Linked DNA regions of Homo sapiens: regions 2 and 3 are each linked to region 1. The links are contacts of gene promoters, found by promoter capture Hi-C in human tissues and cell types (Jung and others, 2019). All regions are on one chromosome and are shown on one strand. The core of a region is centred on a gene start or on the middle of the fragment in contact, and the rest is flanking DNA. Distances in the headings are between cores, read along the strand shown. Region 1 holds the start of KY (kyphoscoliosis peptidase). Region 2 has its middle 62 kb from the start of KY. Region 3 overlaps KY (kyphoscoliosis peptidase).

What was found. The method cuts DNA at HindIII sites, captures the fragments that hold promoters and counts their contacts. A contact is called where the count stands out against the background at its distance.
Region 2: a fragment that was not itself captured here is called in contact with the fragment with the promoter of KY in region 1 in 1 of the 25 tissues and cell types used here (stomach).
Region 3: a contact is called between a fragment that was not itself captured here and the fragment with the promoter of KY in region 1, in 1 of the 25 tissues and cell types used here (pancreas).

Annotation. Positions count from the first base shown.
Region 1 is chr3:134,649,573-134,652,651 of GRCh38, forward strand. KY (kyphoscoliosis peptidase) reads right to left here and starts at 1,450. Exons shown (of 11, transcript NM_178554.6): 1 at 1,253-1,450. The coding sequence starts at 1,388. It also overlaps a transcript of CEP63 not described here. The HindIII fragment of the contact is 13,352 bases long and covers 1-3,079 here.
Region 2 is chr3:134,587,602-134,590,680 of GRCh38, forward strand. It overlaps a transcript of CEP63 not described here. Among named protein-coding and RNA genes, the nearest start is that of KY, 62 kb to the right of the region's middle. The HindIII fragment of the contact is 3,681 bases long and covers 1-3,079 here.
Region 3 is chr3:134,616,110-134,619,188 of GRCh38, forward strand. KY (kyphoscoliosis peptidase) reads right to left here. Exons shown (of 11, transcript NM_178554.6): 8 at 3,039-3,079. It also overlaps a transcript of CEP63 not described here. Among named protein-coding and RNA genes, the nearest start is that of KY, 33 kb to the right of the region's middle. The HindIII fragment of the contact is 6,070 bases long and covers 1-3,079 here.

The DNA.
Region 1 (3,079 bases), core at 200-2,699:
CTCCCAAGAGTAGGTCTGATAACTAAAGAGCCAACGAATCCAAACAACTCCTGCTTCAGTCAGGAATCAGCCCTGAGACTAGAGCGCCTGTCAACATACTCAGCCCTCTAGATTCTGTTTCTTTCCCCTGCCTGCCTTCCCAAGAGGTTCCCAGGGCTCTGGAGGCAGCTCCAGCCTATGTGGCTGGTAGTGGCAAGGCCATCCACAGCAGCATTACTTAAGCAAGGCAGGTGGAAGGTGGATGTTCAATGAGCACAGAGGCTCTGGGGACAGAAGAACCAAGGGCAGAGCAGCAGCAGGAATTCCAAGGAGCTCCAGAGCTGGAGGGGAGGAGAGAGGCAGAAGTCATTCTCCTGCATGGGCTGTCAGGCCTAACTCCTAAAGAACTGGCCCGCAGTCCGCCTAGTGCATCCTCACACCAGCCTCGGAGACAGCTTGCCATCCAGGACCCTGAGGTTCTCTGGCTTTTCAGGGGCTTATTTAACCTCCATTATCATCCCTCTGTACTCCATTCACATTGTGTTCTGTCGTCTGGAGAACAGAGAGGCCCGGATCCTGCTTTCCACAATCACTCTATAAACAGTCACTTTATTTTACCAATCTACAACTTACAAATTTACCCAGAAAGTGTGTAGGACAAGTAAAATTGATGGATAAGTTCAAGTGGAGACAGCAGGTTTCAAATCTTACCCTATCCAAACCTGCGTTCCTTTTACGCCTTTCATGCCTTCCATCTATAGGAGGCTGGGAGAAAGTCTCAAGAAAGGAGAAACTGAGGCTGTAAATTGTGCAAGGCCACACAGGGAGCTCCCCATCTAAAAGTCTGACTCAGCCCAAAGGTTTCCCAGCGTCCCCTGTGCCCTGCAGTGTGCTGTGGGGGGGAGCAGGCCTCTGCTACCCATGAGTCAGCCCTGAGGCTCTGGCCGCCTTCCTCCAGGGTATCTTCCAATCTTGCTCTACACCCGTTAGGGAGTGGCTGGGAGGAAAAAGACTCCCAGGGGTGACGGAAGCACCCACAGGCCTGCACAGGGAGTGAAACTGGGGCAATCACGGGGCTGCGCGTTGCCACGGGACTGCGCGTTGCCACGGGACGCCGGTGCCACTGCGGGGAAGCGACGGCAGCCATGGGGGAGAGGGTCGGGTTCGCTGACCTCGTTCGGGGGAGCAATGGGCGCCCCCCGGCGGGCAGGCCCTTGTGGCAAGGAGGCCAAGGTGCCGGGGGACCCGGGGACCCGGGTCGGGCGCGCGTTACCTCCTCCGCGCTGCAGCAGCGAGCTCGGGTTCGCCTGCTGGTCTGAGAGCGTACCCTGTGCGGCGCGCCGCTTCTCCGAGTGCACGATCAGCAGCATGTCGATAGATACAGCGTTGATGTCCTTCTTCAGCTCCATGATGCCGCCTCCTTTCCGACCTGGGCGCCGCGGCCGCACGCTAGGCTGCTTGCGCTGCAAATGGCCCCGTGCGCGCAGCTGCCCCACACGGGAGAGGGCGAGGGCGCGGAAGAGGGCGCTCCCCCGCCGCTGGAGCCGCAGGGCGCTGCTTTTCGCTGACTCTGCCAAACACGCCATTAGGGCCCGCCTGGGAGGGCGCTACCCTAATGAAGCGGCTCTAAGTCACCTTTGAAAGGAAATCCCCGGGCCCAAGCCTTGACCTGCACCGGGGCCATAGTCAGCAGGGGCGGCCGGTCCAGAGCCTCCCTCCCTGCGCCCCTGCCTCCCGCCCGGTGCACTTGAAGCGCTGGTCCTGGGCTCCAGGGCTTCTCTGGCTGAGCGCTGCCTCATCCCCACGGTCTCCGGAGGGTTCTCGAGAGGGCTGGAGCCGACCTCCCACGAGAAGCCCCTGGCAAATACAGAAATCGCACAGTGCTGTCAACATTGAGAGTAGATTCAGGAAAAGGAAAGACAGCAAAGGGGCTCCAGATTGAATTGCAAGATGTGCAGAGATTGTCCAAGTTTTGGCCTCGACCTCACTCCTTCCCTGGGTTGGTTTTGGAGGTTGACAGCTCTCTCTCCCTAGGAGGGAGTTGGGTGGGGTGTTGGAGTCAGGAGCTCCCCCCAGTTACGGCCCCTGTAGAACTTGGAACATGCCCATTGAGTATCAAGCTAACGATCCTCTTTGATCTGAAACGAAAGTCTTAAAGTCTCGGTTCGTTCTAGAAGCCTGGCTCCTGCCCTGTGGGGAAGGAGGGAGGGGGAGAGGAGGAGGCTGGGGCACAGGGAGCTGGACCTGAGAAGCCTTCTATTTTTAGCCCGGCCTGGCCTGCCCAGCCAACAGCAGCAGGGGTTTGGCTGTAGGTCTCAGGAGTGTTTACATAGGCTTCTGCCTGGTACCCCTGGGCACTACGGGCCCACCCTGCTGGGGGCGTTCCCCTAATTCGAGTTTCTACTGTTAATAAATGCACCCCCACATGGAGGCCTTTGCTCTGGGAGCCCTCCCCGCATTGGAGTGTATGGACCCCACCTTGTAGCATGGTCCTGAGAGTTCCCAGATCCTCCTTGGAGCAGCCTGTGTCACACAGACTGCATTCCAGTACCAGCTCCATCACTTCCTGGCTGTGTGACCTTGGACCAGCCATTTTCCCTCCACCTTCTCACCCTTATCACTGGGTTGATAAAAATTTCTCACATGGCTGTTGTGAGAATGGCATGAATGTAAGGCGCCTGGTGTATAGAAAGTGGTCTTCATATGGTAGCTGTCATTCTTACTTCATTTTAAGGGTGAGGAAAGGGAAAGATGGAGTGACAAGTGACTGATGGAGCAGAGAAGCAGGAGAGATGTCACAGCCACACTCTGAGATTCTGAAGGTCTTCCTCCAATAACAGTGGCTCAGAGTTTGGTTCCGTGTAAAGGCTGTTGTCTTATTGCATTACCAGCGCCCCCCCCCACCACCCCACCCCCTGACTCACCCACTGGGCATCTGATGGAAGGAGAGGTTGTTGGCTTCCAGTAATGTTGAACTGGAGTCCCTAGAGAGCTGAGGCCATAGACAGGCAAGTGGAGATGGCTGACTTCCAAGGCAGGTTTCCTTCTGCTAAAGTGAGTCTTGTCCTGTCTGTATGTGTGCAGGTACACACACACACAC
Region 2 (3,079 bases), core at 1-2,500, 62 kb before region 1:
GTGTCTGTCGGCCCCTACTGGGAGGTGTCTCTCTGTTAGGCTACACAGGGGTCAGGAACCCACTTGAGGAGGCAGTCTGTCTGTTCTCAGAGCTCAAACACCATGCTGGGAGAACCACTGCTCTCTTTGGAGCTCACCTGGAAATGCAGAAATCACCTGTCTTCTCCATCGATCACGCTGGGAGCTACAGACTGGAGCTGTTCCTATTTGGCCATCTTGGAATGGACCCCCCTATAAAAAAAAAAAAAAGGAAATGGATGTTTTTAATACATCTCTCTCAGTAAACCTAAGTAAAGATGTAAGAGATTTGAGAAACAAGACTAACAAACTTGAATTAATGGACATATGAAGAAGATTCCACCCCAAAATGTCAGAATATGTCCCTCTTCAAATACAAGTAAAACTAATATTGGCTGAGCATGGTGATGACGTCTGTAATTCCAGCACTTTGGGAGGCCAATGTGGGCGATCATTTGAGGCCAGGAGTTCGAGACCAGCCTGACCAACATGGCAAAACCCCGTCTCTACTAAAAATACAGAAATCAGCTGGGTGTGGTGGCACGTACCTGTAATCTCAGCTACTCAGGAGGCTGAGGCAGGAGAATCACTTGAGGGGGATAGAGGTTGCAGTGAGCTGAGACAGTGCGGCTGCACTCCAGGCTGGGTGACAGAACAAGACTCTATCTCAAAAATAAATAAATAAATAAATGAAAATAAAACTAATATTAAACATATGTTGAGACACAAATGCTCAACAAATTCAAATGAATAAAATAATATAATCCTTGACTGAGTAGAATTAAACTAGAAATACATTTTAGATGGTATTTAAAAAAAATATCTAAGTGTTCGGAAATTAGGCAATACACTTGTAAATACACTTGGGTGAAAGAAATAAATCACAATTGAAAGTAGAGAATATTTTGAACTGAATGATCATGAAATGACTACACTCTTGGTGTGCAATTGAAGTTGTGCTCGCTGGGAAACTGGTAGCTTTAAATTTATATTTTAAAAAAGAAAAGCATTGAGAAAGTAAATGATCTAAATACTTATTTTAAAAAGGTAAGAAAGAGCAAACTAAACGTCAAGAAAATGGAAGGAAGACATAAGGAGTAGCAATTAATGAATTAGAAAATGAATGTTCAATAGAGAAAACAACAAAATCAAAAGTTAGTTCTTTAAAAAGGCTAATAAGATTGATTGAACCTCTGACTAGACTTATCAAGAAAAAAATGTAAAGATACAAATTACAAATATCAGGAATAAAAATAATAAAAAGCAAACAAGTGCAGATCTTACAGACAGTAACAAAAAGGCATCAATAACTCCTTGCCAACAGCTGTAAACATTTAAACACAATGGATACATTCTTTTAAAAACTCATCATACAAAATGGACACAAGAAGAATTAGAAAATCTGAAGAGTCATAAATAATTTTAAAACTGATCCTTAATTGAAAAACTTCCTACAACAAAAGTATCAGGCTCAGATGGCTTCATCAGTGAATGTTTCCAAATATTTAAGGAAGAAGTAAGCCTATACAACAAACTCTTTCAGAGAATGACAAAAGGGGAAATAATTCTCTTCTCATTTTATAAGACCAGCATAACCTTGAAACCAAATCTGACAAGGACATTTCAAAAAAAGACAAGTACAGACTCTCTTATGAATATAGATGTTAAAGCCCTAAACAAATTATGACCATATCAAATGATATATAAGAAGTGATATATAAAAAGAATAATCTATTATGACCAAGCTGAGTTTATTCCAAGCATGCAAGTTTTGTTTAACATCATCTGGAATAGTGAAATATTGAGCACTTTCTCCCTGAGATTGGGAACAAGAAAATAATACCTACTACCATCATAACTTCTACCCAGCACAATCAGATCAGGAAAAGAAATAAAAGGTAGAATGACAGAGAAGAAAAATTACTTATTCATCACTTCATACCAGTCAGAATGGCTATTATTAAAATGTCAAAAAAAAAACATATTGGCAAGGGTGTGGAGGAAAGGGAATGCTTATACACTGCTGGTGGGAATATAAATTATTTCAGCCATTATGGAAAGCAATTTGGTGATTTCTCAAAGAACTTAAAACAGAAATACCATTCGACCCAGCAATCTCATTGTTGGGTATATCCCCAAAGGGATATTAACTTTTCTACCATAAAGACACATGCATGCGTATGTTCATTATAGCACTATTCACAATAGCAAAGGCATGGAATCAACCTAAATACTCATCAATGGTAGACTGAATAAAGAAAATGTGGTACATATACACCATGGAATACTATGAAGCCATAAAAAAGCATCAAATCATGTCTTTTCAGAAACATGGATGGAGCTGGAGGCTATTATCCTAAGTGAACTAACATAGGAACAGAAAACCAAATATCACATGTTATCACTTATATGTGGGAGCTAAAGATTGAGCACAAAGAAGGGAACAACAGACACTGGGGCCTACTTGAGGATGGAGGGTGGGAGGAGGGTGAGGATCGAAACACCTATTGGGTACTATGCTTATCACCTGGGCGACAAAATAATCTGTACATTGCCAAACCACCATGACACTCAATTTACCTACATAAAAAACCTGTACATATACCCCTTAACCTAAAACAGAAGTTGAAAAAAATAATTATTCACAGGCAACATGATTGTGTGTGTAGAAAATCCAAAAGGACCTCCCTATAAATGATTAGAATTAATTAGTAAATTTAGTAAGATAATTGGATACTAGGTCAATGCATGACAATAGTTCTATTTCTACTCATTAGAAATAAGCAATTAGAAAATTAAATTAAAAATTTATATCATTTACCACATTATCAAAAATATACCTGCAAATACCCAGAAACATATCTAATAAAAGATGTTCAAGACTCCACAAAAATCTACCAAGCATTACTAAGAGAAAGCGGGAATTTGCTCACTCTAGAGTGGAAGATGGGAAAGGAAGAATGGGGCTGGAATAGCTCTCAGACGTCCAAACACAGTGCCTAACAACACATCAATACTTGGCATTTACATTATTATGGCCATGTAAATGTCAACATACAGT
Region 3 (3,079 bases), core at 192-2,691, 33 kb before region 1:
TAGGCAGAATCAACTAAGGATGCAGGCAACTGAGGCAAAAAGAGAGACATTAATGTTGGATGATAGAAAGTCAGAAGGAAACTGGACCAGCAGTTACAAGCTATAGCATTAACCAAAAAACCCCACATCAGTGACTTGGGACAGACAGAAGGAACTGAATGATGTTGTGAAAATATCTGAATTCCTCCCCAAATTACTTTATTAAATCAGTCTTTAATGAGACAATTTCAGGGAGGTGGAATGGACTGGCAAAAAGTAATGATGTCCACCCTGACAACCAAGAAGGGATAAATCAGCAAGTGCGGATTATATGTCCTCAGTTATTAAGGAATTAGCTAATTAATTTACCAAACTTTTGGCAGTTATTTTAAAGGTAAAGAGAGTTAGTAGAGGGATGCATAGATAGGTTACTGATCTTTAAAGAAACAGTTAAAGGAATTCAGGGGACCGTGAGCTATTGCTACACATCTCAGGCAGTGTGAGGAATTTTGCACATGGTAATCACCATGTTGGAACTAATTTTAAATGATGCAAAATGTTAGGGAGAGTTTTAATGATAAGCTGCAGGCCAGAATAGGGCCATTGTTAAGTATCTGGACCAGGGCAAAAAGCTGACAGTTTCACTCAAGGCAAGTGTCAATTTTCTGAATCTATGTAGGCTGGCAGAGTCTGTAGGAAAACTCCACAGAGCAAAAGGACTCCAATCAATACTCAAGAAAGACAAGATAGGTCAAAAAACACCCACCCCAAAATCGGGTTGGTAACCCCCAAACTGCAGTCTCATTGAGTCCTATAGCCCTGCCAGGTAGGCAATCTAGTCTCCAATATATAGATGAGAGCACTGAGGCTGCAAGAGGTTAAGGGCCTTACCACAAAGAACAAAACTAATAGGTGGTAAATTAAAAACTGGGAGCCAGGTCTTTCTGGCTTTAACTTTGGCACTCCTTCTAAAGGATGCTAGGATGCTTATACTGGATCAAGGAGGCGATACCACTCTAAGTGGTAGACCCAGGTCTTTCTAGCTTCAAATCTGGCATTCCTTCTACAGTATGCTAGAAAGCTTATACTGGATAAAGAGGAATATATCCTGGAACTTGGAAAAAATGCTAAGCATTTTTCAAATTTGTAAAATCAGAGGAAAATAATCATGTTCTGAAAGATGCTAGGCACAAATGGAGCTAAGAGACTTGTGGCTATTTCATCAGTTAAAAGAGAATTCCACATTCCATTCCACATAAGTCTGCTAGGAATATCCTGTCATTTCTATATATGTCTATTGAGGGCCTACTGGGTGTAGGATTCTGAGATGGGTATTCGCAGGGGAGGTAGAAGGAGAGAGGAGATAAAGGCAAATATAGACGTATACAATCGATAGGATGTATGACAACAACCGAGCACAGGTAATTCCTGTATGCACAGAACACAGTCTGGAAAGTAATATGACCAAATGTTACCAGTGTTAGCTGTAAGTGGTGAGATTCAGAGTAATAATTTCTTTTTTGCTTTAGTGCATTTTATAAACCATCTACAATGAATGGTATTTTTTAAATTTAAAAATGTTATTAATTGAAAGCATAAGGCAACACATGAGTTTGGTGTGCAACTGGGCTGGGGGTACAAAGGAAGGGGAAGGTTGTGGGCTGTCCTGGAGCGGGGCCTGGAAGGAGCTCTGGGGAGAGGGAGCAGGTGTGCATGCAGAGGTGGTCAGGAAGGTGGTGTCACACAGTGCAGGGCTGGAAACTTGGCTGAGGTCAGATTTTGGAGGACTTTGCTAGATAGTGTGATCCTTTAGTGATGTTAGGAACCCAGGACCAGGGAAGCCTGGACAGAGAGGCCAGTGAGGATCCAGGTTCCTGGAGAGGCCTGCAGGCAGCAGGAGGTATGCTTGGGTCTGGGGTAGGGGGTGGGAAGCAGCCTGGGTGGCATATTCTGTACCCTGACCCACCGTGGCTGCGTCTGGGGCTGTGGTCTCAGGGATTGGCCTTGAAAGTGAGAAAAGGGAAGTACAGGAAGCAGAGCAGGAGGCTTAGAGTAACTCAGCAGCCGGGTAGGTGCCTGTGCTTGGCAGTGGTGATGGGGGCAGGAGGCAGCACAACAGGGGGTTTGGGCCAGGAATAGGTTGCATGCACCCAGTGCTCGGCAGCTGCCGCCTCTGCAACACTGAGGCCATCACAACTGCCTGCCTGTGGACTAAGTGTTACACTTGGTTTGATGAATTGCCACCTGCAGTTCTGGTGGGCTGACATCTGGGTGCCTAAGAAGACTCACTCCCAGAAGCCTAGAAAGACAGTGGGCCGCTGTTCATCCACCCCCTGGGGAGGGGTTCTTTGATGGCCCCAGGGCTAGCTGACTGTTTTCTGGAGGAACCCAGCAGACCTCAGAGGGTAGGCTCAGGAAGCTGTGGGGGTCAGTGGCCATCCCCTCCCCCCACCCCACATCTTGAGCCTGTTTTGAGTCACTGGGAACTGGCAATGGCCTGTTCTCCTGCTCAGGCCAGAGCTGTCACCCACCCCAGCAACCTGGCCATATGCCCACTCCCAGAGTGCTGAAAATGGAGCCCAGCGACTCCAAGAGTAGCCGCTTCGTAGTGATTCAGCTGTCCAACTGACAAATCTTTTCAGGTGGGAGATCTTTTGTTTCCCCCAAAAGAGGCTCCCTGTGTCAGCCCTGAGGACAGCCTTTCACAGTCCCCTTGGCATCTGCAGTCACTGTCCTCCCGCTCCCAGGCCTGCCATTCTTTTAACCTTCAGCTGCATAGAGATGGGAGAAGGCGGAAAAAGGGCTTTTTATAACCAAATTATCTCTGTGCATTCATCTACCATTATGTTAATGCATCGCGAAGCCCGGCAGATGGTACAAAGTCAATTATGCTGGTGTTAAAAAGGGAGAAATTGACCTTTTCAGGACTCACTTGGGTTCCAGAGCAGAGTTTGTAAACTCAGGTTTCAGGCCTGGCATGTGGGCAAAGGCACATGGCACTGTGGAAGAGGGAGAGGGATGGGTCCGGTGGTCAGCATGGGGACTCCTGTCTCTCGTACCTGCACATTCTCTCGAAGAGGCCAGCATAGCCATCACAGTT